Linked DNA regions of Homo sapiens: region 2 is linked to region 1. The links are contacts of gene promoters, found by promoter capture Hi-C in blood cells and fetal thymus (Javierre and others, 2016). All regions are on one chromosome and are shown on one strand. The core of a region is centred on a gene start or on the middle of the fragment in contact, and the rest is flanking DNA. Distances in the headings are between cores, read along the strand shown.

What was found. The method cuts DNA at HindIII sites, captures the fragments that hold promoters and counts their contacts. A CHiCAGO score of 5 or more calls a contact.
Region 2: a contact is called between the fragment with the promoter of PARD3B here and the fragment with the promoter of NRP2 in region 1, in 4 of 17 cell types (total CD4 T cells, endothelial precursors, non-activated CD4 T cells and 1 more). The highest score is 6.3, in total CD4 T cells.

Annotation. Positions count from the first base shown.
Region 1 is chr2:205,680,800-205,685,067 of GRCh38, forward strand. It overlaps NRP2 (neuropilin 2), which reads left to right and starts at 1,702. Exons shown (of 17, transcript NM_003872.3): 1 at 1,702-2,564. The coding sequence starts at 2,492. RefSeq lists a silencer at 1,103-1,222 and an enhancer at 3,697-4,268. The HindIII fragment of the contact is 6,030 bases long and covers 1-3,790 here.
Region 2 is chr2:204,543,760-204,548,027 of GRCh38, forward strand. It overlaps PARD3B (par-3 family cell polarity regulator beta), which reads left to right and starts at 1,716. Exons shown (of 23, transcript NM_001302769.2): 1 at 1,716-2,360. The coding sequence starts at 2,241. RefSeq lists a silencer at 1,703-1,752. The HindIII fragment of the contact is 7,233 bases long and covers 1-4,024 here.

The DNA of each region.
Region 1 (4,268 bases), core at 452-2,951:
AGAGGAGAAATGTAAATCTGGAGTTTTTAATAATGTGGATGTGCTCTCAAGCCTAGAAAGGAAGGAAGAAGGAAGGAAAGGAGGGAGGAAGAGGAAGGAGGGAGGCAAAGAGGGAATGAAAGGTAGCATTTAGGCTAGCCAAGAGACATGCTCCCTGGAAGAACTCAGAGGCCTCTGTGCTGTGCCTTTCCCAACCAGGCATCTGAGATTAACAGTGTGATACTCAGCCTGTGGATTTCCACTCTAAAATCCCGCGCCACCCCCCAACACAGCTTGGCTCAACTATTTGCAAATCACTTCTGATTCAATTTTGTTTTGGTTATCTCAGTGTAAATAACAGTTAAGTGGGAGTTACAGATTTTTCAAACACTAAAAGTGATAAAGCTAATGGGCAAGTCCAGATAAGGAGGGAAACCACCCAGAAGAATCCACAAGTACAAGCCAAGAAGAAAATGGGTAGTCAGGTGTGTGTTTCTCGTCACCGAAACTGTATTTTTCTTAATCTACAGAAAATTTTACTTTCTTAATTTAAAAAAAATCTTAATCTGTAAATATTTTTCTGAATTTTCTTATTTTTCATATACCTCTTTTGTGGCAGAAAAGGTGTACATGTGCAGGGTGTAATTTAGGCTGTTTCTGTTGCAGTCTTTATGATAATGTAGTAATAGGTGTCTGGTGAAGCAAGACAGTTTGGAATCCACAAAGCCATCCTCAGAAACAAAGATACAAGTGTTTCCCCAACTGTTAGCTTGCAGTTCCCTCTAAACAGTTTTCACGCCTCCATTTAAAAATAGTTGGCATAATGATGTTTTCTTTCTCTAGGCTTTGTGACCACGTTTCCATGGGGGAAAATGTGAATAGACGTAGTTACAGTAGCATTTGGATGAGACGCCTTCAAGCACCTATACTTTTTCGGGGGAACTTGATGGAATCCAATTTAATTACCTGAAGAAATTATTTGCTGAAGAAAGTCTTTCCTCTTTTTAGGGTAGTTACAGTTAAAGGCGCAGGGGTAACGAAATCCTAACCCAGAGAGGAGCAGAGCATGTTTGGGACATAACAAAGGATCTGAGTAGTAAACGCAGCGAGTGTTTGGGGTTTTATTCAGACCGGGCTGACGGTGTGTGTCGCCGCCACGCACCGCTGCCTGTTCGAACGCATGGCTGAGCTGCCGACCGGCTCGCTACCCCAAACACCGTACGCCACCCAACTCCTCTTGTAACGCCATCGCGCGTGGCATTGTGTTGGGTTCTGCGTGTGTGGCATCGGAGTCGTGGAATTTAGGGGGAACAAGGCTTTTCCCCCCGTCCCCCCGGGGTCTCCCTTGGGTGGGGGCGACACGGCCAAGGCGGCGCGCCCTGGGGGTGCCCGGGGGCGCTTCTTCCCCAGGGCGTTACGCACCGGCGGCCCGGCGCGGAGGTGCGCGGGGGCGATCGGGAGATGCGGGGCGGGCGAGGGGTGGTGGGATGGGCGCCGCCTTAACTTCGATCCTGCGGCGGCCCGAGAGAAGCCGTCGCCGCCCCGCCCGAGCTGGGTGCCGCGGCACTCTGCTCTGCGCCGCGCGTCTCCGCGGCTGCCTCTTTAATCAGGAACACAGAAGGGGCGGGCCCTGAGCCGGCGCGTAATCGGATAGCTCTGCCGCGGCTCTGACATCCACATGCTGCTCGGCCTGAAAAGGCAGTGGGGAGCCGGAGGGGAGGCAGAGATCGCGAGCGAGGCACCAGCCTGCAGCCGGCCCCCAGCACATCCTCAGCCGCACAGACACTCGGCGAGGTGGAGGTGAGGGCGGGCGCCAGCGAACTCGGAGAGGGGCTCGCTCACTCCCAGGCGATCCCAGCCGCCACCGCCGCCGCACCAGCAGCAGCAACAGCAGCAGCAGCTTCCTTCCTCAGACTCCCCTCGAGAGGCTGGCCAAGCGGGTGTAGCCGTTGGGGGAGGCTCCCGCCGGGGGAACCCGGCGAGGACAAGAGCAGGGCGGCCGCCTTCCACTCGGGCTGTCCGGCGGCGGCTGCCTCCGCCCGTGTGTCCGTCAAGGGTGCCGCGGGATGTGTGTCAGTTTACGCCTCTGAGATCACACAGCTGCCTGGGGGCCGTGTGATGCCCAAGGCAAGTCTTGGTTTTAATTATTATTATTATCATTATTGTTACGCTTGGCTTTCGGGAAATACTCGTGATATTTGTAGGATAAAGGAAATGACACTTTGAGGAACTGGAGAGAACATATATGCGTTTTGTTTTTAAGAGGAAAACCGTGTTCTCTTCCCGGCTTGTTCCCTCTTTGCTGATTTCAGGAGCTACTCTCCTCCTGGTGAGGTGGAAATTCCAGCAAGAATAGAGGTGAAGACAAGCCACCAGGACTCAGGAGGGAAACGCTGACCATTAGAAACCTCTGCATAAGACGTTGTAAGGAGGAAAATAAAAGAGAGAAAAACACAAAGATTTAAACAAGAAACCTACGAACCCAGCTCTGGAAAGAGCCACCTTCTCCAAAATGGATATGTTTCCTCTCACCTGGGTTTTCTTAGCCCTCTACTTTTCAAGACACCAAGTGAGAGGCCAACCAGGTAAGCCACTGAAAGTTTTTCTATTTATTGCAACATGGTTTCCCCTTTAAAAGTGACCGCTAAAGCAGGAAGGCCACGCAGAACGGCACAGAAGAAGGCTCCCTCAGTACTCAATAATTTAAAGAGAGATCCCAGCCGGCCCTTCCTACACCACCACGGCTGCTAAAACCCAACTTTCCTCTCCTGCTAGGAGTGTGTGTGTGTGTGTGTGTGTGTGTGTGTGAGTGTGTTTTGAAACAGAATTTGGCGGTGTTCATATGTCACATATGGACTGAATCAAAGGTTTAAAAATACTACAAAGCCTTTGCATTACAGTTTTTGGGAATTTTTTTTCCCTGTCTTGAAGCAGAACACATCTCCCTTGAGTTTCTCCAACTAGCCAGTGAAATATAAATCATTTGCATTCCCTCCACTTAGCTACATTGAGCAATGTTAACTGAAGGGCTTGGGAAAGACAAGAGTTTAGTTTTGGTTTTCAGATGCTGTAGATTCTTTGGAGAATGACTGGTTATGCTTCAGAATCATAAGGCTCAGGCTGGTGGAGCAAGTTGGCTTGTGGCTGAGATAGGGGCTTGGGGTTGGGTGCTGCTGGCAACCAAGACGGTTGGTCTCTTCTCTCTTCATCCATGTGTTGTCTGGGAAAGTAAATCGTACGTTCTTTTAGAAATTATTATTAGCTAAAACAAATTGCAGGCCCTCGAAGGTCTCTCACTCTTGTGAAGTGGTTAGAAACTTTTGAGTGGAATTTGTTCTCAACCACTGCCAAAAAGGGTGTGTGGACAGGCTGCTGTGGAGATAAGCATTTCGAGGCCCAGAACAGTCTGGGGACCGCATTTGTGGGGAGCGGCAAGGGGTATGCTCTGGAAAGGGGAATCCATGGGGAATGCAGTGGGGTTTGTGCTTCCTTCTCGGACCACTCTCTAGAGTGAGCCTCCCTACCCCTCTGAGAACAGTGTCTGGAATCTAACAACAAAACTCTTAGCAGCTGCTACAGGTGATTGGAGATGGAGAAACCATCTATGGAGGAAATGGGTGAAAGAAAGGCGAAAAAGCCTTCCTGAAGTGCCCTCACCCAAGGCACTTGCAAGGCGATGGCGGCAGTGGTAGAGCTAACTCTGCAGCCTCCTTGGCATCCCCAGAACATCAGCTAGTGGATCCTAGCCTTGCATCTGGTACTGTCACCCTTCCTTCTCCTCACGCCCCCCACCAGCACACACACCACTTTAAGCTTGGGCATTTATTTGAGGGGGGAAGAAAATTCAGGAATGCCTTTGCCACCCAGATCCGCACGTTTGCAGCTCTTTCTTTGCCATAAGTGGTCTTCAGGGCAGCTGCAAATCCTGCCAAAGGGATGGGTGGGGGTCCCACTTGGGGAGATTTTCTGGGCCTCCGCCGTTCCCCCTTGCCTTATTTCTAAATTCCCAGCTTGAAGCGGAATTAAATTACCACTCACAGACCTGGATGCTGCGTAAATTATGTATGTTTGTGTGATTCGCTGTGTGTGTGTGCACACGCGCGCGCGCCGTGAGGATGCCCACAGTATATTATGTATTCAGACACGGACTCCAGTAGGCCCCAGCGCGCGAGCGCGCACACACTGGCACTCACACTGGCGCGCACACACATGCAACTTCAGGTTCCGTGTGCTGTGCGGAGCGGGAGGGGTCGTGAAGACTCAGGGGCCATCTCCTACCCCAGATGTTC
Region 2 (4,268 bases), core at 466-2,965, 1.1 Mb before region 1:
TTTCATCAGTGGAAAATCTTTGCTCTGTACCATTCTATAGGTCCATGAAATACCGAATATTAAAAGTGAGGGCCACACATTAATGCACGGCATCAGTATCTATTTGTTTGTTTGATTCACTCATTGGTACTTCTCATGTAAGAAACAGCACAGCAGTTACGATGAAGACTCTGGAATCAGATGACCTGGGTTTTAAGCCAGCCTCTGCTACTTTCTAAGAATGAGATTTTAACTAAATCATTTAACTTCCTTTGGCCTCAGCTCCTCATCTCTAAAAAGAGGATAAAGTGTCTCCTTTGAAGAGAGCTGGCCTGAGAATGGAGACCACACTGAGGAACAGATAGAGCTAAGAGCTGGACAGAGCTAGCTGGCCCCTGAGGACATAGTTTGAGTTCCTGCTTTCAACCTTGCCTCAATGGAGTGCCCTCTGGATCTTCTGATTTTATGAGGTGATCAATTCTGTCTTTGGTTTATTTAAATGTAAATTAGTTTGTATTGGATTTACAACCAAATTACAATGGACTTGGTTTACGTGATCCTCTTGGTTTGCCACTGACTTTCTATACATAGAAGACAACCAATATATACTTACTGAATGTATGAATGAGCTAAAATTTATTTTTTTAAAAAACCTCTTGAAACCCATGAATTTAATCTCCTCTGCATTATCATACCATCCTAGGCAATTCACGTTCAATTTAAGTGTGTCCACATAGGAGCACATCCTTCTGTAGAGAAACACATGATGCAGCCCTGAGGGTCTTGCTGGATGAACTGGATGGCTAAGAAAACTGCAGGGAGAGACCAGAGATTGAGCTCAGAAGACCTGAGTTCTTTTCAACAGAACTAACACCATGGTCTGCTCAGTCTCTTGACCTCTCCGAGCACCATTCTTGATGCACAAGATGCGAAGAATAATATCTACCTACCGGGTAGTTGTTAAGCTCAAAGGAGCTCATTTACATGAGAGCTAAGAATGAAACTAACGTAATTTGTTGGTTTCCCCCACATATTCCCATTTCAATTGGTGATGGATACACACCTGCCAAATCATGAGCCTAAGGGTGTTAACTTTTTTTTTTCCTAATAAAATGCACAACGGTAGTCGCATTCCAGAAGGCTATGTGTCAACACACGCGATCATATCTGGGTCTTGGGTGTGACCTTTGGCCAAATACTCAGTGTCCTCGAGGGTCTGTAAAAGGAAAAGTTTCCACTGGCGCGTTCTCTCCAAGGTTCGCTTCAGCTCTGCTATCCCAGGGCTCCTGATGGCAGCGGCACGGGCTGTGCTTAAGGCGAGTTCCTAACAGGCCCTCGGGGCACTCCTGCATCTCCGCACCCGGCAGCCTCGCCCCTTGGGTGTTTTTGGTGGGCGTGACTAGAAGCACCTGCTCCTGGGCTCCTTTTGCATCTTGCTGCAGTCCCCTCCTGTGAAGGGCGCAGCTCTGCAGTCTCCTCGCTCTTCCCTCGGGTGTTCTTTCTGAGATCCGGTTTCAATCCTCGAGCGTGTAGCCCTCAGGTCCCCTTACAACTCCCCAGAGCTCCGTGTGCATGCGTGCGAGAGGGAGAGAGCCAGGGAGAGACCCAGGTGACGAGACGAGGCTCCCGGGCTCCAGTTACTGGCCCGCAGGGCCGGGGCACGTCGTCGCCCAGCGTGCGGCGGGGCCCGGGAGCGCCGCGGCCCCTTTAAGAGCCGGGCCCAGGCCGTCGCCGGGACCGCAGGAGCCCAGAGCGCGGGCGCCGCAGAGGAGTTGGGAGCCGGCGCAAAAGTTTCCTCCCAACTCTGGCCCCGTGCGCCGCCGCCGCCGCCGCCCACTCCAGCCCCCGGCTTGGGGCCGGCCCTGCCAACGCCGCCAGGGCCAGGGCCAGGGCCAGGACCAGCGACAGGGCAGGGCCGGCAGTTTCGCTTTGGTGGGCGCGGAGCAGCCGCCTGGGCCGGGCAGGAGTAGGAGCGGGAGGAGGAGGAGGAGGAGCCGGTGCCGCGGAGCTGCCGCGTCCCGGGCCGCCGGGCACCTGGGAGGTAACCCCTTTCCGCGGCCGCCCCTCCCCGATTCCCGCCACCTGCCGCCTGGCCAGGTGGAAGGGGCGCTGCCGCGAGCCTCCGGGCCTCAGGGTGTTCCGGGGAGCGGCGCCCCGGGTCTCTGGGCCCACCCGCCCCGGGCGTCCTCCGAGAGTGGGGGCTGCGCCCGCGGGGTCAGACACCTGTTCGGCCCGGCCCGGCGTGGTCGCCGGGGGCCAGGATGAAAGTGACCGTGTGCTTCGGCAGGACGGGCATCGTGGTGCCCTGCAAGGAGGGCCAGCTGCGCGTCGGCGAGCTCACCCAGCAGGCGCTGCAGCGGTACCTGAAGACCCGGGAGAAGGTGAGCGCGGCGCGGAGGAGTGGGGCGCGGCTGCAGCCAAGGCACCTGCCAGGTGCGACCCGGTGGCGACACTCAGGGGATGCAGAAAACCCAGGGGATTATGGGGCACTGCCTGTAGCTGCAGCTGTTGTCTATTGCTAATATCAGTGATGTGGGTGTCTTTGGGTGTTTGTGGGCCTTGAGCTCCGAGGGTCGTGAGTGGACCTGCAGCATTGGAATCTCTTGGGAGCTTCTTAGAACTGCCCAATATGGGCAGTTCTCCAAACCCACCGACTCAGGATCTGCTCTTTAACGAGATCCCCAGGTGATTGGAATGCCCACTGAAGTTTGAGAACCACTGGTTTAGAACTTGTTTGAGGGAACGTCTTAAAAGGTGCTGCTCACCTAAGTGTGATTTTTGACCCATTAAGGCCCGCCTCACTTAGGCTCCTTGGAGTTAGAAAGTTGATTGTGCAAGTGACACATACTCGGAAGTTACAACTGATGGGGCCTTTGGAGTTTCAGCCTTGTGAGCTGCCCTGTCTCAGTGACTTGGGCAGGAACACAGGTGGGAGCATGCTGTTTGCTTAGCCAACCTGTCTACATTTTGAGTGTTTTCAGTTTAATGTCACAGATTCTATGACCATTTACTATGTGTGTGGGCTGTTGTCAGGTCCTGAGTGACTATTAAAATGAGAAAGACGTTCCTAGCTCTGTAGCTGAAGTCAGGAACAAGTATAAATTAAGTGACAATTTTTTTTAAGTGTGCAATACATGTTGAGAAAATATCTGGCACTAGAACTTATGCCAAGTATTTGGGTAACATTGGGCCTCTGGGACTTCCTCAGTGAAACTTTTAAAGGAAGGCATTGAATAACCTTTTAATTTTTTGAATCTTCACATGGAACATTTTGTATGTCCCAAATGCTCCTCAAACAGGGCAAGTCACAAATTCTTGTTTTAGCGGCCAATGGTTCTCTTAATATTTGGTCTCGTGCCATGTGACTAAAATAGTGGGTTGGTCAATCTAGTGATGGAAAAACGTAAGTTTTAATTTCTTTTAACTTCTTATCGGTTATCCAAAGCATAAAAGTAATTGTTTCTTACAAGTGTATAGCTTAGGGGTTTAAGAAAATACTTGCACCTTCTTTGCCTCCATGAAGAATTATTATACAGAAAAAAAATTCAGCTCTGGACAGATACATGTGCATATTGCTTTGGATACTCAAGAACTGGAGGAGAGTACAATGAAAGGTCTATTAATATATTAAATATAACCCCTAAAGATGAACTCTTTACTGATGGAATTGAGGTGGAGGAGGGAAAAAATTAAAGTGGTTTATAAAGCTGTGTGAAAATCAACTGCAATGTTATGTGTGTGTGTGCACGTGCATATGTGTTTGCCATTGTTAAAATAGTGTTTGCTGTTTAAATCATGTAATTCAGTTAACTGATGTTTAAACAAGTAACCAATTGTCTATTAAATCATATTTCACTAACTTTTGAAAGTGAGCTAAGATTAATAGTAACAACATTACTCCAGACAGATTATTGAAATAGATCTCATTGAGGGATTGTCTTACCAAATTGAAGTTACTTTTTAACTATTAAATAATTTATGCCCTCAAATCTTGTATATTTAGAAGTTTAGTACAGGGGGCTATCCAAGTAAGAGATAAACTACAAGCTTGTAAATAACATGAAGAGAACTAACCAGCTGATATTTAATTCACTATAATTTGATCTTAAAAGGTGTTAAAATATTGACATTCTGGAATGGAAACGTAACTTATAATATCACAGAACAATGTAGTTGCATTGATCAGTTTACTATTATTACCAGACTTATATTTTTCTGTTTACATTTATATATTAGTGAATGTGACATTTAAAGGTCACCTGCAGCATATAAATCCTTCCTCTTATTTT